Regions from separate parts of the Homo sapiens genome. Here regions 2, 3, 4, 5 and 6 are each linked to region 1. Evidence: promoter capture Hi-C in 16 types of primary human blood cells and fetal thymus (Javierre and others, 2016). All regions are on one chromosome and are shown on one strand. The core of a region is centred on a gene start or on the middle of the fragment in contact, and the rest is flanking DNA. Distances in the headings are between cores, read along the strand shown.

What was found. The method cuts DNA at HindIII sites, captures the fragments that hold promoters and counts their contacts. A CHiCAGO score of 5 or more calls a contact.
Region 2: the fragment with the promoter of MED11 here is called in contact with the fragment with the promoter of USP6 in region 1 in 1 of 17 cell types (fetal thymus); the score reaches 5.5 in fetal thymus.
Region 3: a contact is called between a fragment that was not itself captured here and the fragment with the promoter of USP6 in region 1, in 2 of 17 cell types (naive B cells and total B cells). The highest score is 6.4, in naive B cells.
Region 4: a contact is called between a fragment that was not itself captured here and the fragment with the promoter of USP6 in region 1, in 2 of 17 cell types (naive B cells and total B cells). The highest score is 7.3, in naive B cells.
Region 5: the fragment with the promoter of PSMB6 here is called in contact with the fragment with the promoter of USP6 in region 1 in 3 of 17 cell types (fetal thymus, erythroblasts and naive B cells); the score reaches 8.4 in fetal thymus.
Region 6: a contact is called between a fragment that was not itself captured here and the fragment with the promoter of USP6 in region 1, in 1 of 17 cell types (total B cells). The highest score is 5.2, in total B cells.

The regions. Positions count from the first base shown.
Region 1 is chr17:5,114,264-5,118,137 of GRCh38, reverse strand. USP6 (ubiquitin specific peptidase 6) reads right to left here and starts at 2,106. Exons shown (of 38, transcript NM_001304284.2): 1 at 1,398-2,106. ZNF232-AS1 (ZNF232 antisense RNA 1) reads right to left here. Exons shown (of 3, transcript NR_135658.1): 3 at 3,756-3,874. It also overlaps a transcript of ZNF232 not described here. The HindIII fragment of the contact is 5,308 bases long and covers 1-3,874 here.
Region 2 is chr17:4,730,178-4,734,051 of GRCh38, reverse strand. MED11 (mediator complex subunit 11) reads right to left here and starts at 2,624. Exons shown (of 3, transcript NM_001001683.4): 1 at 2,478-2,624; 2 at 2,146-2,276; 3 at 445-1,002. The coding sequence starts at 2,562. The coding sequence ends at 865. It overlaps CXCL16 (C-X-C motif chemokine ligand 16), which reads left to right. Exons shown (of 6, transcript NM_001386809.1): 6 at 1-519. RefSeq lists enhancers at 2,628-2,677, 1,969-2,788, 2,688-2,827. The HindIII fragment of the contact is 3,713 bases long and covers 1-3,175 here.
Region 3 is chr17:5,455,442-5,459,315 of GRCh38, reverse strand. It overlaps DHX33 (DEAH-box helicase 33), which reads left to right. Exons shown (of 12, transcript NM_020162.4): 5 at 3,134-3,319. Among named protein-coding and RNA genes, the nearest start is that of DHX33, 12 kb to the left of the region's middle. The HindIII fragment of the contact is 1,608 bases long and covers 966-2,573 here.
Region 4 is chr17:5,434,546-5,438,419 of GRCh38, reverse strand. It overlaps C1QBP (complement C1q binding protein), which reads left to right. Exons shown (of 6, transcript NM_001212.4): 2 at 147-297; 3 at 3,454-3,547. Among named protein-coding and RNA genes, the nearest start is that of C1QBP, 2.7 kb to the left of the region's middle. The HindIII fragment of the contact is 4,188 bases long and covers 158-3,874 here.
Region 5 is chr17:4,793,618-4,797,491 of GRCh38, reverse strand. It overlaps PSMB6 (proteasome 20S subunit beta 6), which reads right to left and starts at 1,328. Exons shown (of 6, transcript NM_002798.3): 1 at 1,196-1,328; 2 at 697-764; 3 at 1-54. The coding sequence starts at 1,297. RefSeq lists enhancers at 1,015-1,544, 971-1,569. The HindIII fragment of the contact is 8,413 bases long and covers 1-3,874 here.
Region 6 is chr17:5,405,705-5,409,578 of GRCh38, reverse strand. It overlaps NUP88 (nucleoporin 88), which reads left to right. Exons shown (of 17, transcript NM_002532.6): 5 at 670-846. Among named protein-coding and RNA genes, the nearest start is that of NUP88, 12 kb to the left of the region's middle. The HindIII fragment of the contact is 639 bases long and covers 1,682-2,320 here.

The sequences.
Region 1 (3,874 bases), core at 857-3,356:
TAGAATAAGTGAATGCTAGCCAGTAATCTGCCAATATAGTCCACTTGTCTTGATTTTTTTTTTTTTTTTGAGACGGAGTCCCACTCTGTTGCCCAGGCTAGAGTGCAGTGGCATGATCTCGGCCCACTTCAATCTCCGCCTCCCAGGTTCAAGTGATTCTCCTGCCTCAGCCTCCTGAGGAGCTGGGAGGAGCTGGGATTACAGGTGCATGCCAGTACACCCAGCTAACACCATGTTAGCCAGCCTGGTCTTAAACTCCTGGTGATCTGCCTGCCTTGGCCTCCCAAAGTCCTGGGATTACAGGTGTGAGCCACCCCACCCGGCCTCACTTGTCTTGATTTTTAATGCCCTTAGAGTGAGGCCACCATCATCTCTTGCTTGTACTATTATCGCAGCCTCCTAACATGCCTCCCTGATTCCAACGCTTCTCTACAGGGCAGCTGGAATGTTCTTCCTTCAGAACAAATCTGATAGTGCCATCCCCCTCTCTAAATTTCCACAGTGATTTCCCACTAACTTCAGCCTGAAGTCCAAAGTCCTTATTGTGACATATATATTCTGATGCGACCCCATTTATTCACTTGTGCTGTAAATATTTATTGAGCTTTTTTTTTTTTTTTTTGAGACGGAGTCTCGCTCTGTCGCCCAGGCTGGAGTGCAGTGGTGCAATCTCAGCTCACTGCAACCTTTGCCTCCCGGGTTCAAGTGATTCTCCTGCCTCAGCCTCCTGAGTAGCTGGGATTACAGGTGTGTGCCTCCACACCCGGCTAATTTTTGTATTTTTTGTAGAGAGGGGGTTTCACCATGTTGGTCAGGCTGGTCTCAAACTCCTGACCTCATGATCCACCCGCCTCGGCCTCCCAAAGTGCTGGGATTAGAGGCTTGAGCCCCCTCGCCCAGGCTTATCGAGCTTTTAATATGTGTTAAGCAGCGGGTGCTACAAAGCAGGGTGAGCATAAATGGACAAGTCTCTGGCCTGATGGAACTTATAATTGTAGAAGAGAAACTAATTAGAATCATTAATAAAGTTGCAACCATAAGTGCCAAAAAGGAGAGGCATATGATACTACAGTGGGGAGTCTCACCTAGCTGGGGAAGGCTTTCTGCAAAGTACTTACCTTTCCTTCCTATTATTTACCCATGAACTCTCTGCAGTTCCCCAAGAATGTAGGCACCGCCCTCTTGCCCTGTGGCCTTTCCACGAGCTGTTCCCTCTGTGAAGATTGCTCCCTCCGTACCTAGCTCCATCACTTTTCAGTACTTGCTATGTGTTGGGTACCGTGATAAGCACTTACCATCAATTTTCTCTTGTATTTACCTCAGTGAGTGCAACTGTTAACCCTGTTTTATACATAAGAAACTACGCTCTAGAAAGGCAAATTTGCCCAAAGACTCACAACTAGTAAGTGAAGAAACGAATTCAAATTCCGGTCGGCCCGACTCGAAAGCGGTCTTGGCGGTACAGTCTTGGGTCTCCCAGTTCCTTCCTGTTCAGGCCTCACGTATCTGCCCGCCTTTCCTGACAGACCCCTGGTGAGGGTCTAGTGCCTCCACGGGCCACGGCCATCGTAAGGCAGCAACTGTAACTTGTCGCCCGCCCCACTAGGCTGAGCTCTTCCCGGACAGGCACTGGCCTTTTCCCTTTCGTCGGCTCAGTGACTCCAGGTAGACGCCCCTCAGACACCACACGAGACGGCGGCTCACATGGGCCAGAAGTGTTTCCCCTCTCCCCCAGCGGCTTGTCTAGGAAAACATGAGGACTCGGTTCGACTCGATGGTGCGGGCCTAAGCCCCGGGAAGCCGGGAGTGGTGAGGCGGGCCGCCGGGAGCGGGGCCGGGAGTGGTGAGGGGGGCCGCCCGGAGCGGGGCCGGGAGTGGCGTCGAGCAGAGAGCCCGCAGGCGGGAAGTCCTCTCAATGAGCGTCTCGAGCGCTGCCCGCGGCCCCTCCTGACTGCTAGTTGGAGCGGGGACAGCATGGGCGCGGCCGCCAAGGTAGCGTCGAGTGAGGGGAAGACTGATGGGCGCCTGGAGACGAGCTCCCACAGCGGCCACGCATTTGGAGCTGGGCGTCGGGGCCCGCCCGTCCCGCCGCGCCGCTAGCTGTCCCCTCTGCCTGGCCTCCGTGCCTTGCGCCCCTTTGTGCCGTCCAGCCCTACAGCTTTGAGGCCCTTTCGGCGCACGCACCCCGCCCCGATCCCCCGGCGCTATCCCAGCCTTGACGGCCGGGGAGGCTTTCCCTAGCCCGGCGCCTCGAGGACCGCCTCAGTGGCCAAAGGCGGCGCGGGGTGCGCCCGGGCTGTGTCCCCGGGAGGCTGGACCGCCAGTCCGCGCATGAGGCCATCTGTGAGGCACGAGTGCAGGAGAGTGAAGGAGACCGGGGCGTGCTGAGTAGGGACCTCCCTCAGTGACTGGAAGGTTATTCATGGGGCCTTCTGACACTCTAAAAACGAAATTTCTCCGGGGTTTGATGAGTATCAGGGTGGTGGCTTCTTGAGTTTTGAGCAGGCATCACAAATCAATCCCTCTGGAATACAGAACTGCCTCTGTTCCGTTTTGGGTTTTGTGTGTGTGTGTGTGTGTGTTTTTGGAGACGGAGTCTTGCTCTGTTGCCCAAGCCGGAGTGCAGTGGCGCCATCTCGGCTCACTGTAACCTCCGCCTCCCGGGTTAAAGCTGTTGTCCCGCCTCAGCCTCCCGAGTAGCTGGGATTACAGGCGCCCCCCACCACGCCAGGCTAATTTTGTATTTTTAGTAGAGAGAGGGTTTCACCATGTTGGCCAGGCTGGTCTTGAACTCCTGACCTCAGGTGATCCACTGGCCTCGGCCTCGCAAAGTGCTGGAATTACAGGCACGACCCACCACATCCGGCCCTCTGTTCCTTGTTTCGAAATAACTCAATTAAAAGTCAGAGGCTCACTGGCCACATCTCCTTCCACCCACCCACCGCCCCACCCCCCAAAAGATGCCTCTAGCAAATAAAATGAGACGTCCTGATGCCTTCCTGGCTCGTTCCAGAATTTTTAGCTTTGACTTTTGACGTGGGGTCCTTCTACCTAAAGTCCCCGCCGTCACATCAGCCCCCAGTTTTCCTCTGTCTTAGCTCGGGCTGCCGTAACAAAATACCATAGACTGGATGCCAGACAACAGAAATTTATTTTCTCAGTTTTGGAGGCTGCAAGGCTGTGACCAGGGCCCAACATGGTCAGGTTCTGGTGAGAGCTCCCTGGCTGCCTTCTCACAGGGTCCTCACATGGCAGAGAGAGAGGGACCCAAAGCCCTCTGGTGTCTTTTTTGTTTGTTTGTTATTTTTTGGGACGGAGTCTCACACTGCTGCCAGGCTGGAGTGCAGTGGCCCGATCTCGGCTCACTGCAACCTCCACCTCCCAGGTTCAAGTAATTCTCCAGCCCCAGCCTCCCAATTAGCTGGGATTACAGGCACCCACCACCACACCCGGCTAATTTTTGTATTTTTAGTAGAGAGGGGCTTTCACCATGCTGGCCAGGCTGGTCTCGAACTCCTGAGCCCAGCTGATCCACCCGCCTCGGTTTCCCAAAGTGCTGGGATTACAGGCGTGAGCCACTGCGCCTGGCCAGAACTCAGTCCTTACAGAACATCAGAGAATCCATACAAGGTGAGAGAGAGGCCTTATAAATGCATTGGGTGTGGGAAAGATTTGAAGGGGAGCTCACAACTTATTCAGCATCAAAGAATTCACAGTGGAAAGAAACTTTGTGAATGCAATGAATGTTCAAAGACTTGTAATCAGAGCTCACACTTTATTCGACATCATAGAATTCATAGTGGAGAAAAGCCCTATGAATGTGACAAGCATGGGAAAGCCTTCAGATGGAGCTCAGACCTTGTGAGGCATCTGG
Region 2 (3,874 bases), core at 1,375-3,874, 380 kb after region 1:
ATTTTTAGTAGAGACGGGGTTTCACCATGTTGACCAGGCTGGTCTCGAACTCCTGACCTGGTGATCTGCCCACCCAGGCCTCCCAAAGTGCTGGGATTAAAGGTGTGAGCCACCATGCCTGGCCCTATGTGTGTTTTTTAACTACTAAAAATTATTTTTGTAATGATTGAGTCTTCTTTATGGAAACAACTGGCCTCAGCCCTTGCGCCCTTACTGTGATTCCTGGCTTCATTTTTTGCTGATGGTTCCCCCTCGTCCCAAATCTCTCTCCCAGTACACCAGTTGTTCCTCCCCCACCTCAGCCCTCTCCTGCATCCTCCTGTACCCGCAGCGAAGGCCTGGGCTTTCCCACCCTCCCTCCTTAGCAGGTGCCGTGCTGGGACACCATACGGGTTGGTTTCACCTCCTCAGTCCCTTGCCTACCCCAGTGAGAGTCTGATCTTGTTTTTATTGTTATTGCTTTTATTATTATTGCTTTTATTATCATTAAAACTCTAGTTCTTGTTTTGTCTCTCCGAATGAAGAAGTATGTATTTTCATTAGGCCAAGTCTGCGGGAAGGCTGGGGCAGCAGCATGAAGTGTTTGAGGAAGTGGGTTGGGTATGTCAGTTTCCATCTCCTCTCTGAGCCTGTCAGGGTGTTTCTGGAGTGCAGAGCAGGAGCACCCTGCTGGAGAGGCCAAAGCATAGCTGTGGGCAGGCTCGGGCTTCAGTTTTTCCATGCCCACCATTTGCCCCTTTGTCCTAGGGTACTTTGACCAGCAGGGTATGTTGGTGCTCATACTCCCCACCCTACATGTTCCCAGGTTCTGTCCCATGGCACAGGTGATGGTCTCCCTCTCAGCTCTGGGTCCATCTCCCTGGCCTAGTTCTCCAGCATCTGCTCACAGGTTCGAGCCACATCACTGAGCTTGAGGCGGGCATAGTCCACTCGCTTCAGAGCCATCTGACAGTCCTTCCTCGAAGAGTAGCTGGAGCCCTCATGGGGCTGCCCTGTGGCCACCTACAAGACAGACTATCAATGGAGCACCATCTCCTTTACCCTAACTCCAACCAGGCATCAGGTCTCGTCTCATTTCTTCCCTGAGTTTGAATTTGTTAGGCCATCTGGTAGCTGGGTAAATAAATCATTTAACTTATGTTAATCTTGTCTGTAAAATGGGGGTGACAATAACTACTTCCTAGAGTTGTTGAGGATTAGATAAAGTAATGCAGAGTATCTGGCACACCGTAAAAATTAGTAATGGTAGTGGTCCCTGCGACGATTTCAGAACCTTCTCAATCCTGTCCCTCTTCTCAGGATATAAGGATTTGGGACCTCGTGGCCTGGAGGTCAGGCCAAGTTTCCAGTGACAAAGTTCTGTAGTTCTAGCATTATTTACACATCTTCTGCTAGGCACATGTGATGTTACCCAGTGAGGTATGCAGGGCCACCTTTAATTCTTTCATTTTATTATTTATTATTTTTTGAGACAGAGTTTTTGCTCTGTTACCCAGGCTGGAGTGCAATGGCATGATCTCGGCTAAGTACAACAACCTCCGCCTCCTGGGTTCAAGCGATTCTCCTGCCTCAGCCTTCCAAGTAGCTGGGGTTACCGGTACTCACCACCAAGCCCGGCTTTTTTTTTTTTTGAGACAGTCTTGCTTTGTCACCCAGGCTGGAGTGCAGTGCTGCAATCTTGGCTCACTGCAACCTCCACCTCCTGGGTTCAAGCGATTCTCCTGCCTCACCCTTCCAAGTAGCTGGGATTACAGGTGCCCGCTACCAGCCCAGCTAATTTTTGTATTTTTAGTAGAGACGGAGTTTCACCATGTTGGCCAGGCTGGTCTCGAACTCCTGACCTCAGATGATCCACCCGCCTCAGCCTCCCAAAGTGCTGGGATTACAGGAGTGAGCCACCGAGCCTGGCCTAATTTTTATATTTTTAGTAGAGACGAGGTTTCACCGTGTTGGCCAGGCTGGTCTCGAACTCTGTCAAGCCACTGCGCCCGGCCCATTCTTTCCTTTTAGAGGAAGAAACCCGCTCTGGATGGCCGGCTGGGGAGGTCTGGTCCTGCCCAGTTAATGCTCCACCCTGGATCACCCAAGCCTGAGGCTTTGACCCAGAGCTGGGGTTCGCTCGCAGAACCCCCCAGACACACCGACCTGGGTGAGGTAGCGGATCTGAGCTGACAGCTCCGCCTCCACGTGTTGCACTGAAGCGGTGAAGGCCGCCGCCTGCCGGTCTAGGAGCCGCTCGTTAGTTTTTTCCTTGGACAATTCTAGGATCACAGTACCTGCCAGGGCGGAGAGAGGGCGGGGACACACGGAGACTGCCAGTGTAGCCTCTCCCTAGGCCAGCCCCTCTCAGTCCCGCCCTTTCGCTGCGCACGCACGTAGGATTCCCTCCCCAACCCTGCTCCAAGTCCCAGGTCAGGCTGCCAGTGCAGCCCGGTCACGCTTTCGCTCCCCGCTGTCCAGGTTGTCGCATCCCGAACCTGCATTCTGAAGGATGGCGCCGATTTCCCGTTCAATGTCTTCCAGAGCGCGTAGTCTCTCGTTCGCCAGGCTGTAGGTAGCCATTATCACTCTGGGAATTCTCACCAAGAGTTTCTCCTCAGAAACGCGACGCTTGTTCCGGAAGTGGCTCTCGGTGTGCGCCTGCGCAGAGGGCACCGTGTAGCGAGCACTACGATTCCCAGGATGCTCAGCGCAGCCTCGCCTCCTCGGTCCGCTTGATGAACTACAACTCCCAGGGCCCGCTGCGCCTCAGCCACAGGACCACCCGTAGTCAGAGGCGACAGTGGAATATCCCCTAGCCCGAGGCCATTCAGACCTGTCCATCTTCTTGACACTGTCTGTGGCCTCTAGTTTATTCTACACAAGTTTATTTATTTATGAGACAGTCTTACTCTGTCGTCCAGGTTGGAGTGCAGTCGCAAGATCTCCCTCCCTGCAACCTCCACCTCCCAGGTTCAAGCGATTCTCCTGCTTCAGCTTCCCGGGTGCCTGGGATTATAGGCGCCCGCCACCACGCCCGGCTGATTTTTGTATTTTTAGTAGAGACGGGGTTTCACCATGTTGGCCAGGTTGGTCTCGAACTCGACCTCAAGCGATCCACCCTCTTCGGCCTCCCAAAGTGCTGGGATTACAGGCGTGAGCTGAATCTTAAAGGTGAACTACGTGGATGAAAGCTTGTAGTGGAAAAGGGAGACGGCATAGGCAACAGCATGGTGCTGTGACGGGAACAGCGCATGTGGAGTCCAGCAAGGGATTCTGCCTGCCTGGAGTGAACGGAGCGTGGTGGGGGTTAGGTATGACAATGGTGAGGCTGGAGAGAGGAGCGGAATCAGGAAAAGGCTTGCAAGCTATGTACTTTGGACTTGAGTCTGAAGACATTTGAGCCTTTAAAGGGTTTTTAAGAAGTGTGTTATGACCAGAATTACCTTTTTTGGAAAGATCGTTTGTAACAGTTTATAGTAGATTATCAAGAATGAAACTAGTTTGCCCAAGGTTAGCACATGAAGGTTAGACTCAGTTAAACTGAATGGTCTAGCCTGGGGAACATAGTGAGATACTGTCTTTATAAAAAAATTTGGGGGCTGGGCATGGTGGCTCACTCCTGTAATTTCAGCTCTTTGGGAGGCTGAGGTGGGAGGATCACTTGAACTAAGGACTTCGAGACCAGCCTGGGCAATATAGTGAGACCCCATCTCCTATATTTAAAAAATAAAGGCTGGGTTTGGTGGCTCACACCTGTAATCCCAGCACTTTGGGAGGCCGAGGCGGGTGGATCACCTGAGGTCAGGAGTTCGAGACCAGCCTGACCAACATGGAGAAACCCCGTCTCTACTAAAAATACAGAATTAGCTGGGCATGGTGGCGCATGCCTGTA
Region 3 (3,874 bases), core at 520-3,019, 340 kb before region 1:
AGTCACTTTTGTTTAATTTGTATAAAATTTAATGTTTTTACCTTCCTATTAGCTTTCTGAGAAAATCCAGAGGCAAACTTTTAAAATAACTTTTTATTTAATTAATTTACTTATTTAGAGACGGGGTCTCATTCTGTCACCCAGGCTGGAGTGCAGTGGCATAATCACAGCTACTACAGCCTCGATCTCCTGGGCTCAAGCCGTCCTCCTACCTTTGCCTCCTGAGTAGCTGGAACTACAGGCACACACCAGTACACCTGGCTAATTTTTTTTTATGTTTTGTAGAGACAGGGTCTTGCTACGTTGCCCGGACTGGTCTCAAACTCCTGACCTCAAGTGATTTTCCCGACTCAGCCTCCCAAAGCACTGGGATTGCAGATGTGAGAAACCGTGCCCAGTCAATTTTTATTTTAAAATAAGTGATGCATATGGGATTTAAAGTTTTAAAAAGTCAAGTAGTTTATAGTAAAAGGTTTATAATAAAAGAATAGCAGTTGTTTTTACTTCAACATCCCAGATTTCTGCTGTTTAGGGCACCTACTTTCAATCTCTACATATTGCTTTCATGTTTCTAAACTACCTTGCTTTGACCACTATTTTTTGAGTTATGGGTATCAGGCATCATATGCTAATTTCTTACCATGGTGACAAAAGTTTAGAATGCCCCTCCCCAACCCCCTTTATCTCCAACCTCTTGACAGTTCTATCATGTTTTTGTTTAGGTTTTTGTTTTTGAGGCAGGATCTTGCTGTGTTGCCCAGGCTGGTCGTGAACTCCCGGGCTCAATCAGTCCTCCCACCTCAGCATTGGGAGTAGCTAGGACTACATGCTTGCACACCTGTGTCTGGCCTATTATGATGTTTTCTGAGTCCAGTATCAATACTAAGAATATTATGACCACACATTGCTAGTAGCACACCATCATCCCTGTACCTTGTTTCTTGAACAACACAGTTGTGCAAGCTTTCTGGGTAGCTCTGGCTCATTTTCTCCCAAATATTCCAACATCTCATATGCCAGTCGTGTATAGTTCTGTGTTCAAGCACAGTCTGTCTTTTCAGAGTCCTTTATGCTGCTGTTCCAGTTGGGGCAGGTGGCTCTCCTGGGCCTTTGTGCAGCTGTCATCTTGACTCTTCACTTTGTCACCATTTTCCCGTGGTGAGACCCATGGCTTCCCAGTCTCCTGGCCGTCCTGGGTAGGAGAGGGAACTGAAGGCTTTAACTACTCTATACTCAGACTTTGAACCAATCCCTGAGTTTTCACTCTCCCACAACATAATTTGTAGTTTCCTCCCTCTAGCCAAGTCATCCAGCCCCTTTCCCCTCTCTTCCAAAATGAGTTGAGACTCCTCATCTCTCATTGCCTTTTCTTTCTAAGACAGTGGCCTTTACTGTCGTTTTCATAGTGTTTGGGGAAGAAGTCTGCCTTGTTCAGCTGCAGAAAGCAAACGAGAATTTTTCATGAATGATGGCTGCTGGTGCATTAGGTTACCACTGGCTTTGATGAATTCTCCCACTCATGAGGTTTTGACTGTTTTAGATTTTATCCTGTCTGTGTATCCCTCTGCACATTTGTTCTGTTAATACTGGGCTGAAAAAAAATACATATTAAAAAATACGTATTTTTACATATATACATAAATATACATATAATTATTAAAATTTTTTTCTATTTATTTTGCCATTAGGCACTTTTTTTTTTTTTTTTTGAGATGGAGTCTCACTGTGTCGCCCAGGCTGGAGTGCAGTGACACGAGCTCGGCTCACTGCAACCTCTACCTCCCAGGTCCAAGTGATTCTTGTGCCTCAGCCTCCTGAGTATCTGGGATCACACCTAGCTAACTTTTGTATTTTTAATAGAGATGGGATTTCACTGTGTTGGACAGGCTGGTCTCAAACTGCTGACCTCAACCCATTTGCCTGCCTCAGCCTCCCAAAGTGCTGGGGTTACAGGCATGAGCCACTGCGCCCAGTCCATCAAGCACTTCATTTTATTTATTTATTTTTTGAGATGGAGTCTTGCTCTGTCGCCCAGGTTGGAGTGCAGTGATGCAATCTCGGCTCACTGCAACCTCCGCCTCCCATGTTCAAGTGATTCTCCTGCCTCAGCCTCCTGAGTAGCTGGGATTACAGGCGTGCGCCACCACGCCTGGCTAATTTTTTGTATTTTTAGTAGAGACAGGGTTTCACCATGTTGGTCAAGCTGGTCTCGAACTCCTGACCTCAGGTGATCTGGCCGCCTCGGCCTCCCAAAGTGTTAAGCACTTTACATCAAACAAATTAATGTATCTGATCAGAAATCAAAGAAAAATCAGGGCATTAGGTATGTCATTCACACTTGGGTGTTGTTCCATTTGAAAGTGAGGAACCCCATTAACCTCAGTATCTCAAGCAGTTGTCCGAGTATAGTGTGTGTTTTGGGGCGTGTGAAAGCGCTTTCGACGGCGTCATTCATTAAAGGCTCCTTCTCCAGCATGGCTGCGCCTGTTCATTTCCATAGATTAGGATTTCCCCAAGTTTCCTTCTGTTTTGTCAACTTCATTTTTCAAGATGCTTATAAAAGAAAGGAAGCTTCATGCAGATTTTATTTGCTTGCCTGATTATGCTTTTCATGGTATTGTTCTTGTTAGAAAAATCAATCTGATGATTTCCCTTCAAAATTTCATCACTTGGCCTATAAACATAGCTGGCTAACTCCTATATATTACAGTTTTGTTTTTTGTGTTTTTGAGTCAGGTTCTCGTTCTGTCGCCCAGGCTGGAGTGGAGTGGCAAGCAGCTGGAACTATAGGCATGTGTCACCACCCCTGACCAATTTAAAAAAAAGTGTTTTGTAGAGATGGGATCTTGCTGCGTTGCCCAGGCTGGTCACAAACTCCTGGCTGCAAACGATCCTCCCGCCTCAGCCTCCCAAAGTGCTGGGTTTACAGGCGTGAGCCATCACACCCAGCCTGTTACCATTTACACACTGCTGGTAAGGGTTCTCTCCAAGCTAGACATCAACTTTTAGGCTCATTTACATTTCTATAGTTAAGAGAAATAACTCTGGGAAACATCATCAATCACCATTGTCTTTTTCTGTGCAAGCTGCAATTCTATCAATGCCTAGTAAACCCACTCTACTTTTTTTACAGGAAGCCCCTTCTTCACAGGACATCCTGGTGTTCCTCACTGGGCAGGAGGAGATCGAAGCCATGAGCAAGACGTGCCGAGACATTGCAAAGCACCTCCCAGACGGCTGCCCTGCGATGCTGGTCCTTCCTCTGTACGCCTCCCTGCCCTATGCACAGCAGCTCCGAGTCTTCCAAGGGGCCCCAAAGGTGAGTGCACCACCTCTTCTGTCCAGCCCTATTCTGGGCACCCAGACGGATCCACCAGCGAGGTCTGTACCTGTTACCAGGCTCCAGATAAGGTGTATGGGATGGGATACCCAGGTGCCAGATCAGCGCACTGAGGAGGTGCAGGAATAAAATGCGCGGTGACACACGCAGCGCTCCTGTGACAGGAGCAGGGAGACAGTTGTTGGGATGAGGGAGAGTATAAACCAAAGCTGCAAGGTAAACGAGTGACTTCTAAGGACCAGCATAAATTGCATTTGTCCATAGTGCCATTTCTTGTGTGCCTTTGCCGTGCCAGGCACTGTGCTAGCATTTATATCCACTGTCTGTCATCCTCGTGGGAACCGGCAAGGCAGGTTATGATCCCATGGGGATCCTGAGGCCCCAAGAAGGGAAGTAACAATTGCTCAAGGGGGCGCATAGTAAGTCACTGGCAGGGCCACGATTCCAACCCACATCTACTTGCTTCTGATTCCTGTGCTTGTTCCACTGCATCTCATTGCCTCAAATTGACCTTTAAGACTGCAGCGTCCCCTT
Region 4 (3,874 bases), core at 1,002-3,501, 320 kb before region 1:
ACCGATAAGGAAACAGGCTTCTAGAGTAACCGTAATAGCAGAGAGATTAGAAACAGTCCAGGTTTCTGGCTGCAATAACCTGGGTAATAGTTTTATGTTTTAGACTAACTGGCTTTCCTTTTTATGTATCTGGATTTCTTTTCTAGGAGACAAAGCTTTTGTTGATTTCCTGAGTGATGAAATTAAGGAGGAAAGAAAAATTCAGAAGCATAAAACCCTCCCTAAGATGTCTGGAGGTTGGGAGCTGGAACTGAATGGGACAGAAGCGAAATTAGTGCGGAAAGTTGCCGGGGAAAAGTAAGTACTGGTCTGGGGATCCCAGGGCAGCAACTCCCTTAACCTTGCAGGACCCATCCTGGGTCATCCCCAGAAGAGCCTTGAGTTCAGGTGTGGATACTTTGATAAATGGGTTTCAAGAGAGTGAAGGATTCATTTGGACAACTTCGTAAGCCCCAGGCAGTCCATTCACCGAACACAAATTTGCTGTGGGCTGGTTACTAAGGAGACAAAAATGTAGTGCAAAAAAGTACTGGCAGAATCAGTTTGATCTCTGATTTACAGCCCTGATAAAATAGGACACTGCTCTCTAATGTTTAGTATGGGTGAAAATGAAAAATATGTAACTTCTATGTAACAGGATGGGGTTACACTGTAGTAAGGGCTGCCATCAGAGGTGGGGAGTTTGTGACCTAAGTCAGCTCCCCCATCATCTCCTAAACTGTTAAAGTGTTTACACTTTTCTGCATTATAGTCATCCATAATCTCATTACACAGATAAACATTTGGCATCTTCCAGGTTTTTAAATTGAGCCTGGGCGCGGTGGCTCACACCCATAATCCCAGCACTTTGGGACGGGCAGATCATGAGGTCAGGAGAAAATCCTGGCTAACACTAAAACCCTGGCTCTAGTAAAAATTAACCGGGTATGGTGGCACGTGCCTGTAGTCCCAGCTACTCGGGAGGCTGAGGCAGGGGAATCGCTTGAACCTGGGAGGTGGAGGTTGCAGTGAGTCGAGATCGCGCCACCGCGCTCCAGCCTGGGCAACAGAGCAAGACGCCATCTCAATAATAAATAAATAAATTGAATTTCCTTCATAATTGACCTTATGATGTGTATGTAATTTTTTTAAATCACAGCTTTTATGAGATTTAATTGAGATGGCATACGATTTACCCATTTATTGAAGTTTATTAAATTAAGTGGTTCTTAGTCCTCGCAGAATTATGCATCAGTTATCACTACCTAATTCTAGAACACTGTTGTCATCCCCAAACAATACCTATTAGCAGTCACTCATTATTCCTCCCTGTAGCCACCCCAGGTAATCACTAAGCTACTTTCTCTATGGGATTGCCTCTTTTGGACATTTCATATAAATGGAGTCATACAATTTGTAGCTTCCCCCCCCAACCCCACGGAGTCTTGCTCTGTCACCCAGGATGGAGTGCAGTGGTGCGATCTTGGCTCACTGCAACCTCTGCCTCCCAGGTTCTGACAATTCTCCTGCCTCAGCCTCCTTAGCTGGGATTACAGGCGTGCGTCCGGTTAATTTTTGTATTTTTAGTAGAGACAGGGTTTCACCGTGTTGGCCAGGCTGGTCTCAAAGTCCTGACCTCGTGATCCGCCCGCCTTGGCCTCCCAAAGTGCTGGGATTTCAGGTGTGAGCCACCCTGCCCACCCTATTTACCTTTTTAATTGTTGGGTTGTAAAAGTTAAGTTTTTCTGGGTACAACTATCTTATCAAATTAATGATTTGTAAGTACTGTTTCCCATCTTGTGGGTTTCCTTTTCACTTTCTTGGTAATGTCCTCTGACACAAAAGTTTTTAATTTTGAGGAAGTTCAGTTTACCTATTTTTTTGGTCGCTTGTGCTTTTTTATTTATTTTTTACTTTGCTTCTAATTCACCAAGTGCAACTTGTGCTTTTTTAGTGTCACGTCTAAGAAACCACTGCCTAACCCAAGGTTGTGAAGATGTATGCCTTAATTTTTTCAAAGTTTTCTAGTTTTAGCTCTTAGTTTAGGTCTGTGATTCATTTTGAATATGGTGTGAAGTAGGGTCCTGATTCTCTTGCCTGTTGCATAGTGTGTTTTTGCCCTACACAGGTCAATTGTGTCTTCTGTAATCTCACCTAAACACCATTTGCGCAAGGTTTTCATAGCTATTTGGGGGCCATTAAAAATAATGCTCTGATGAACGTCATTCAATTTCTGTGCCCAGGAGCTCAGCTTAGTCAGCACAGTTGGAATTAGACAGATTTTGTCAACCTCAGACTGCCTCTGTTGCCATGGAAAGGTGGCTTCCTGGCAGAGCAGCTAGTTAGCACAAGTGGAGGGCGGCACTTCATGTACTCTTTTTTTTTTTTTTTTTTTTCTGACAGAGTCTTGCTGTGTCTCCAGGCTGGAGAGCAGTGGCGTGATCTCGGCTCACTGCAACCTCCACCTCCCAGGTTCAAGCAATTCTCCTGCCTCAGCCTCCTGAGTAGCTGGGATTACAGGCGCGTACCACCACGCCCAGCTAATTTTTTTTTTTTTTTTTTTTTTGTATTTTTTAGTAGAGATGGAGTTTCATCGTGTTGGCCAGGATGGTCTCGATCTCTTGACCTCGTGATCTGCCCACCTCGGCCTCCCAAAGTGCTGGGATTACAGGCGTGAGCCACTGCGCCCAGCCTTCATGTACTCTTGTGTGGAATGGTGCCTGCCAGAGTTGCATAGCCCAGCAGTTTTGGTTCTAAACCTTATGTCCCAAGAATTTTGACTCAAACTTTGGAACATGATTTGTCAGGTGTGGATTCTTGCACCTTAAAATTGTCACTAGTTGGTGTGTCTGGCCTGCTTTGTGATTATGAAACTTCCCACAAGTACTCTAAGGGATGAGTCTCTACTACAGCCCTTGTTCTTTGTGAGGCATTCCCTTCCCCGTTCCAGGGCTGCTCTCGGTGTTTAGCAGAGGCACCCTCCATCGCTTCTTCCTTTCCTTGCAGGGCAAATTTTCTGACGGGGAAAGTCTCTTAAAGGGGCTTCTGTTCCATCTCACCAGCCTCTCAGGTCCTTACTTTGACCAAGGGTTCCCTGGAAAGACCAGGGTGGGCAGTGTCAGCTGGCTGTGGCCATGAGATGCCCAGTCAGCACATGGCAGTGAGCCCTGGGGTACTGGCCCTGTTGGGAGTAACCCATGCATGACTTGTTTGGCTGAGATAAACTGAGGCCAGCTTTGGCTTCCAGCAGCTGGTACATGGTAGGCACACTTCAGACCTGCTGAGTCACTCAGGATTGGATGTAGGCACCCAGCCTAGTTTGAAGTTCTGCATATAATTCAGCCAGCTAGGACAGAGACATTGTTTCAATACGCCTTTTTAACTGTAGCAGATTTCCATGTTTATGTGTTAACCTGCTCGGTTAAAACCATGCCTTGTCTGTTTTGCCTTGTCTGTTTTCCCTTGCCGTTTTAGAATCACGGTCACTTTCAACATTAACAACAGCATCCCACCAACATTTGATGGTGAGGAGGAACCCTCGCAAGGGCAGAAGGTTGAAGAACAGGAGGTAAGCTAATACTATAATCAGCTTTTACCTCAGTTCTGACAGGCTGTGCCTGGGGCTTAGAGGAGGAGCGTTTTTCTTTGGTCTTTCAAAAAAAAAAAATTCCTCTAAGTCCAGTCGCATGGCTCACGCCTATAATCCCAGCACTTTGGGAGGCCGAGACGGGCAGATCACGAGGTCAAGAGATCGAGACCATCCTGGCCAACATGGTGAAACCCCGTCTCTACTAAAAATACAAAAATTAGCTGGGCATGGTGGCAGGTCCCTGTAATCCCAGCTACTCGGGAGGCTGAGGCAGGAGAATCGCTTGAACCCGGGAGGCAGAGGTTG
Region 5 (3,874 bases), core at 79-2,578, 320 kb after region 1:
ATGCGGTCGTGAATAGGTGTCAGCTTGTCAGTCACTCGATTGGCGATGTAGGACCTGCAGGATGGCAGAATAGTGAGGAAAGGAGCCCACCTGTCTTCCACCTCCATCCCATCACTACCCACTCTCTTAGGGCTCAGGGATAGGATGTCCAGTATTGCCTTTTTTTCCTTTTTCTTTGAGATGGAGTCTCGCTCTGTTGCCCAGGCTGGAGTACAGTGACGCGATCTCTGCTCACTGCAACATCCACCTCCTGGGTCCAAGCGATTCTCTAGCCCTAGCCTCCCAAGTAGCTGGGACTGCAGGCACGCACCGCCACGCACGGCTAATTTTTGTATTTTTTAGTAGAGACGGGGTTTCGCCATGTTGGCCAGGCTGGTCTCGAACTCCTGACCTCAGGTGATCCACCCGCCTCGGCCTCCCAAAGTACTGGGATTACAGGCGTGAGCCACCGTGCCTGGCCTCCAGTATTGCTTATTCTCATCCAAACTGAAGCGGGCTGGAGAACAGACTTTTGTAAGGATTCCACTAACGAGTGAGGGGAACTGAAAGTAACAAAAGTTGGGACAAATCTTTATCTCCAGAGAGAGAAGAAACCTCTCTTCCCACAGTGGTCTGTGGAGGCAGGCAGGGTGGGCTGGCAGGCAGGAAAGGAAAAGGAAGATGGGAAGACCTTTCACAAATCTGTCCTGAGCTCACCCAGTGGTTGTTCTGGAGTCCGCCCCCAGAACCACGCCCCCGTCAAACTGCACGGCCATGATAGTGGTCTGGGAAAAGGGAAAAAGGAGTAAGTCTACATTCTCCAGCAGACACAAACCTCAATGATCTCTCTACCTAGTTCCAAAAATACAAAATCTGTCCGTCGCTGAACCATTTTCAAATCTTATAGGGGCCTCAGCACCCCGCAGAATACCAGAATGCCAACCCTCAAATCTCAAAAGACTCATCCCGTACTTAAGCCCAAGATCCTCACTAGCCTCGCAGGATTTCAGAATTTCAAACTTCAGCCCACCCTCCACCTCCCACTACGAAGCTACCGCACCACTCCACCATCTTCGGGGTACCTCTCCCCATTCCTGGAGCACAACACATTCCACCTCCTCTCCACCCCTGCCAGATCTCTCAACCCCACTCAGGCTTTATCTTCCCATCGCGTCAGGCCTTGTGCACGTCCTATGAACCCCGATTCCTTCCTCACCCCAGTGGAAACTTCTCGGCTTTCCCAGTCTGGAGTGAACGCCTCCGGCCCCCAAGCCGGTGCTGGCCCGGCTCCCCGAGCAGCTAGTAAGGTAGCCGCCATCTTTCTCCTCCGGTACTGCCTCAAAGCAACTGTCGTAAAGCGCTCTGTCACGCTCTTTGGTCGCGCTTTGAGGCCTTCTGGGAGCGAAGCTACTCCGAGGTTGACGGCAGAAGGGAAAAGAAAAGTACAGTACTGCATGGGGACGGTTCTTTTGCGACAGTGAGCACTTGATGGCAGCGTGGCAAGCAACAAACAAAACAAGAAAGTCAGCAAAACCCCCCCCCCAAAAAACCAAAAAAAACCCAAAAACCGTTCGGCACTTTGGGAGGCTGAGGCGGGCGGATCATGAGGTTAGGAGTTCAAGACCAGCCTGGCCAACATGGTGAAACTCCTTCTCTACTAAAAAATACAAAAATTAGCCGGGCGTGGTGGGGCGCGCCTGTAATCCCGGCTACTGGGGAGGCTGAGGCAGGAGAATCGCTTGAGCCTGGGAGGCGGAGGTTACAGTGAGCCGAGATCACGCCACTGCACTCCAGCCTGAGCGACAGAGCAAGACTGTCTCAAAACAAAAGCAAAAACAAAACAAAACAAAAAACAGTCCTAGTGGCTTGCGCCGTACCGATCTTATGGAGTTACAGTCCAAAGGGCCCACAAAATAAACCTGAGAGTCTTTGGGCTAAAGTGACCACACCATGTTTTCATTTCTTTTAGTTATATACTTAGGAGTATATGCTGGCAGAGGAATTTATGGGTTCTATGATAACTGTATGTTTAACATTTTGAGCAACCGACAAACTGTTTTCCACAGAAACTGCACCATTTTACATCCCTACAAGCCATGTGTGAGGGTTCCAATTTCTCCACATCCTCACCAACACTTGTTATTGTGCATTTTTTTAGTTATAGCCATTCCAGTGGGTGTGAAGTGGTACCCTGTGGTTTTCATTGGTATTTTTCTAATGATTAGTGATGCTGAGCATATTTCCATGAGATAATTGGCCATTTGTATGTCTTTTTTGATGCAATGTTTTTTCAAGTTCTTTGCACATTCTAAAATTGGGATATGTCTTTTGTTTAATATATTTTTGGGGTTTAATTTTTTTTTTTTGAGACGAGGGTGGGGTGTGTGTGTGGGGTGGGTTTGTCTTGCGGTGTTTCCCAGGCTGGAGTGCAGATGGGATCATGGTGCACTATATCAGCCTCGAACTCCTGGGCTCCAGTGATCCTCCCGCCTCAGCTTCTCAAGTAGCTGGGACTACAGGTGTGTGCCACTGAACCCAGCTCTATTTGTCTTTTTTTTTTTTTTTTTTTTTTTTTGAGACGGAGTCTCGCTCTGTCGCCCAGGCGGGACTGCGGACTGCAGTGGCGCAATCTCGGCTCACTGCAAGCTCCGCTTCCCGGGTTCACGCCATTCTCCTGCCTCAGCCTCCCGAGTAGCTGGGACTACAGGCGCCCGCCACCGCGCCCGGCTAATTTTTTTTGTATTTTTAGTAGAGACGGGGTTTCACCTTGTTAGCCAGGATGGTCTCGATCTCCTGACCTCATGATCCACCCGCCTCGGCCTCCCAAAGTGCTGGGATTACAGGCGTGAGCCACCGCGCCCGGCCTCTATTTGTCTTTTTATACTGGTGTGATCTCGGCTCACTGCAGCTTCCGCCTCCCGGGTTCCAGCAATTCTCTTGCCCCAGCCTCCCAAGTAGCTGGGATTACAGGCATGCGCCACCATGCCCGGCTAATTTTTGTATTTTTATTAAAGAGATGGGGTTTCGCCATGTTGGCCAGGCCGGTCTCGAACTCCTAACCTCAGGTGATCCTCCCGCCTCGGCCTCCGAAAGTGCTAGGATTACAGGCATGAGCCACTGTGCCTGGCTCTATTTGTCTTTTTATTGTTGAGTTGTAAGGGTCCTTTTTAATATTCTAGGTACTAGAAACATCAGATACATGATTTGAAAATATTTTCTCCCATTGGATTGTCTTTTCATGTCCTTCATTGGTGTTCTTTGAAGCATGAAAGTTTATAGTGCCAGCTCTTACATTTTTAGGTCTGTGGTCCATTTTGAGTTAATTTTTGTATGTGATGTGAAGTAGAAGTCCAAATCCATGCTTTTGCATATGGATAGTCAGTTAGTTGTTCCAGCACCATTTGTTGAAAAGACCTGCCGGGTGCAGTGGCTCACGCCTGTAATCCCAGCACTTTGGGAGGCTGAGGCAGGCGGATCACGAGGTCAGGAGACTGAGACCATCCTGGCTAACACGGTGAAACCCCTCTACTAAAAATACAAAAAAAAAATTAGCCGGGTGTAGTGGTGGGCGCCTATAGTCCCAGCTACTCGGGAGGCTGAGGCAGGAGAATGGTCTGAGACCAGGAGGCGGAGCTTGCAGTGAGCCGAGATCGGGCCGCTGCACTCCCAAGCCTGGGCAACAGAGCAAGACTCCGTCTCAAAAAAAAAAAAAAAAAAAAAAAGACTGTCTCCCCATTGAATGATCTTGGCACCCTTGTTAAAAATCATTGACCATACATGTATGGACTTACTTCTGGATTCTCAGTTTTGTTTCATTGATCTATATGTCTATCCTATGCCAGTATCATATTGTCTCTATTACTGTAGCTTTGTAGTACTTCTTTTCTTTTCTTTT
Region 6 (3,874 bases), core at 752-3,251, 290 kb before region 1:
GGATCCTGCTGCTCAGAGACAACTGTTGATGTTTTCATGTGTTTTCCTGTTTCCTTTTTGCATTTATGTGTGTGTATATAATAAATTTTTGCTATTTGTATATCTGTGTATTTAAACTATTTAAGATGAGAGTAGAACCAAATAATTTTATGGCCAGCTTTTTTCACTTAATTTCATGAGAATTTTTTTTTTTTTTTTTTTTTTGAGACGGAGTTTCGCTCTTGTCGCCCAGGCTGGAGTGCAATGGCACAATCTCGGCTCACTGCAACCTCCGCCTCCCAGGTTCAAGCAATTCTCCTGCCTTAGCCTCCCAAGTAGCTGGGACTACAGGCACCTGCCACCACGCCCAACTAATTTTTGTATTTTTAGTAGAAACGGGGTTTCACCATGTTGGCCAGGCTGGTCTCGAACTCCTGACCTCAGGTGATCCACCCACCTCGGCCTCCCAAATTGCTGGGATTACAGGCATGAGCCACTGCACCCAGCTGAGAATTTTTAAATGTTAACATTCTTCATAATCATTTTTTGTCTTTTCAGTCCATTGCCTACAAATTCCATACATACCCACCTCCTGTTATTAGACATTTTGTGTTTTTGTTTTGTTTTGTTTTTCTTTTTACTTTTTGTTGTTTTTGTTTTTAACAAGTTGGTTTTTACATCTCTTTCCAGAAGGGCGTATACCGCATCTCTAGGAGAGACAGCAGTTGCATTTGACTTTGGGCCATTGGCAGCAGTCCCAAAGACTCTATTTGGACAAAACGGCAAAGATGAAGTAGTGGCATACCCACTGTACATCTTATATGAAAATGGAGAGACTTTCCTGACATACATCAGTCTGTTACACAGGTAAGTTGAGGTGGTCACCCACCTGAAATGAAAACTCAGTTTGGGCTCCAGTAGATATCATTGAGGCTGGACTTGGGAGCCATGTTTTTGAGTCTGTGGAAATGTTGCAGCCTTCACATGCTTGGCTTGCATATTTTTGAGAAAGAGTTAGTACAGGTCATTTGGCCTTTCATTTCTTCATATTATTTGGGTAAGTTCTATAGAATTCTTGGATAATCACTTATGATAGGCCTGGATTTGTGTTCACAAATTCTAGTTATCCGAACAAGTGCTTATTGTTTATCTTATATGAACAAGACACCACGTAGGCGTGGTAATCTGGTATCTTATGTCCCAGTTGTGGGGAGAAAGATACATACACATGAAAAAATACTATCCATACCACAGTATTGGTACACAGACAGTAAGAACCCCGAGGAAGGAGAGATCATTCTGACTGGGAGGTTAAGGAAATTTTCGTAGAGAAGGAGTGGTGTCATGTGTGACTTAAAGGTCTCATTCAGGATTAAATGAAGTATCAAGGAAGAGTGAGACCATTTCTGTCAAGGGCAGCATAAAGTAGCGTCTGAAAATAAGCAAGTGCAAGTGTCATTCAAGCTTAATTTATTAGACATTCTGGGCTAGAGCTGAGGATTCATGTAGGGAGCATTAAGTGATAAAGCTGGAGTATCTGTCCCGAGAAAATTTGCTGGAATTAAAAATACCTCGTTAAAAGAGTGAGTGTGGGTTTTTTTTCTGTAGGAATAGGGTAGTAGGAAGCCAGTGATGGTTTCTGAACAGAAGGACAAAACAATTGGTTAGGGAGGGGACTGGGACAGAGACTTTTAAAGAAGCTTTTGCAAAATTGAGCTTGTCATTTATGAGAGTTTGAACTTGGGTGGTAATAGAACAGAGGGAAAAATGAAACACAGTAGATAACAACAAAGGAAGGATAAATAAGACTTAGTTACTGTTTGGATAAGGGAGTATGCCATGAACAGAAACAGGTCAGTAAAGGCTGCTAATTGGGGGAGAAGATTTATTTCTAAGTAAATCAGTGTAAGATAGTATTGGACCAATAAAATGGAAATATTCCATGGACAGTTGGAAATACAGGATGATGACAGACAAGAAGAATTAAAATAGAGGTATGAGAATCATCTTTCATGGTGAGAGAGTCTATACAGGATAAGAATTTGAGGGAAAACTGCAGAGGCATAAGGCTAAGGGCTGAGCATTAGAGTTTATTCGCTTGTAAATCGACTTAACAGATACTTATTCAGGACCCACTCTGGCAGAAGATGGAAATACAAGATTGAAGGCAAGGTTCCTGCCATGTGGTTCCTTAACTACCAGAAGGGCATACAACTAAACCAGTAACTATAGTACAGTGTCATGTGCTCAGGGCATCACCGGGTTCTTCAGGAGTGTGATGGAGTAAATGAGTAGGCCTGCTCATCTTGGAAGACTTTAAGGAAATGCTATTACAAAAGCTTGAACTTGAAGGATTCACTAGACAGAATCAGAAGTGGGTACAGGAGAGAGAAGAGAGTACGCAAAACCATAAAGATTAGAAAGATGAAAGAGCTCGGTAGGTTACAGAATGGTGAGGATTCACTGTTGAGTGCATTCTCCTTGGCAGAAATGTTCTCTGCCTTTCACACATGATCTCAGGAGGATTTTGTGGTAACTTTAGTACCTTCCCTTACCCTTTCTCCTCTTGCTGCTGAGCCCTCATTTGTCCAAACCATGATCTGCCTAGTAACGTTAGCCCAAAACCCAAAAGTTTTCTTCATCCTTACATTTCATCAGTCCCAAATTTCTATTGATTTTGTGATTTAAATTTTTCGAAAGTATACACCAAGCTTGTCCAACCCACGGGCTGCGCGCAGCCCAGGACAGCCTTGAATGCAGCCCAACGCAAATTTGTAAACTTTCTTAGAACATTATGATATTTGTTTGCGATTTTCTTTTCTTTTCTTTTTTTTTTAAAGCTCATCACGTATTGTTAGTGTATTTTCTGTGTGGCCCAAAACAATTGTTCCAGTGTGGCCCAGGGAAGCCAAAAGATTGGACACCCCTGATTATACACCCTTCTCTGCATTCCTCTGTCCCTGCTTCAGAACTGCATCATCTGCCTACTTCACCATCTGCCTGGCTTATTTTCTTAAATAGTTTCCCCAAATCCCATTTTGGACCCTTCCATGTCTTCCTCCCTAATACCAGACTGATTTGTAAAGTGAGGCTCCATCGCTTGATTTAAACCTCTAGTGATATACTGTTACCCGGCAGATAGATTTCAAATAGTTTAACATAGCACACAAGACTGTGTACTTCATAAGCCAGTCCTGGATGTCTGTCTAGCTATTTTGCCGTTGCCTTCCACCTTGTACTTTGCCTCCCATCATACTAAATAAGTTTTCTTGTTCTTAGTTCTTTGTCTTTCATGTTTCCAGGACTTTGCATAAACTGATCTCTAGCTTGGAATGCTCAACAATCCCCTTCCCAGAAATCATTCTTTCTCATTTTTCTCATTTATTTTTTATAGCTTTCTTCATTATCTTTGTATCTTTTTGTCATTCCTTTGTACACCATAAATCCTTCTGTTGTTGCACTTATCACATGGTATAGTAATTCTGGTTAAATGTCTGCCTCATCAACTAAACCATCATTCACTGGGAGTATCATCTAGCACTCAATAATAAGTATTTGTCAAATCAAATTTAATATGGGGATCCAAAGCCTTGAAGAGAAGCTACATTTTAGAAGAAAGGATTTGGTAGTCTTTGAATATAGATGGTAGTTAAAACGAGGCATAGTTTAACAGGCTCTCATTTAAGTGTGTATTTTGAAAAAAGTCAAAGCATACAACAGAATCCTGGAGAACACCAATATTTAAGAGACAGAAATTAGAAAAGGACGTTAGAAAATTGTGTTTAAAGAGGTAGGAAGAGAGAACTACAAGAAAGAATTGTTACAGCTGTTGAGTAGCAGTAGTCGTTAACCAGTGATAAATGCAGCAGAAGGTTAAGTGCATTTTGGATTTAGC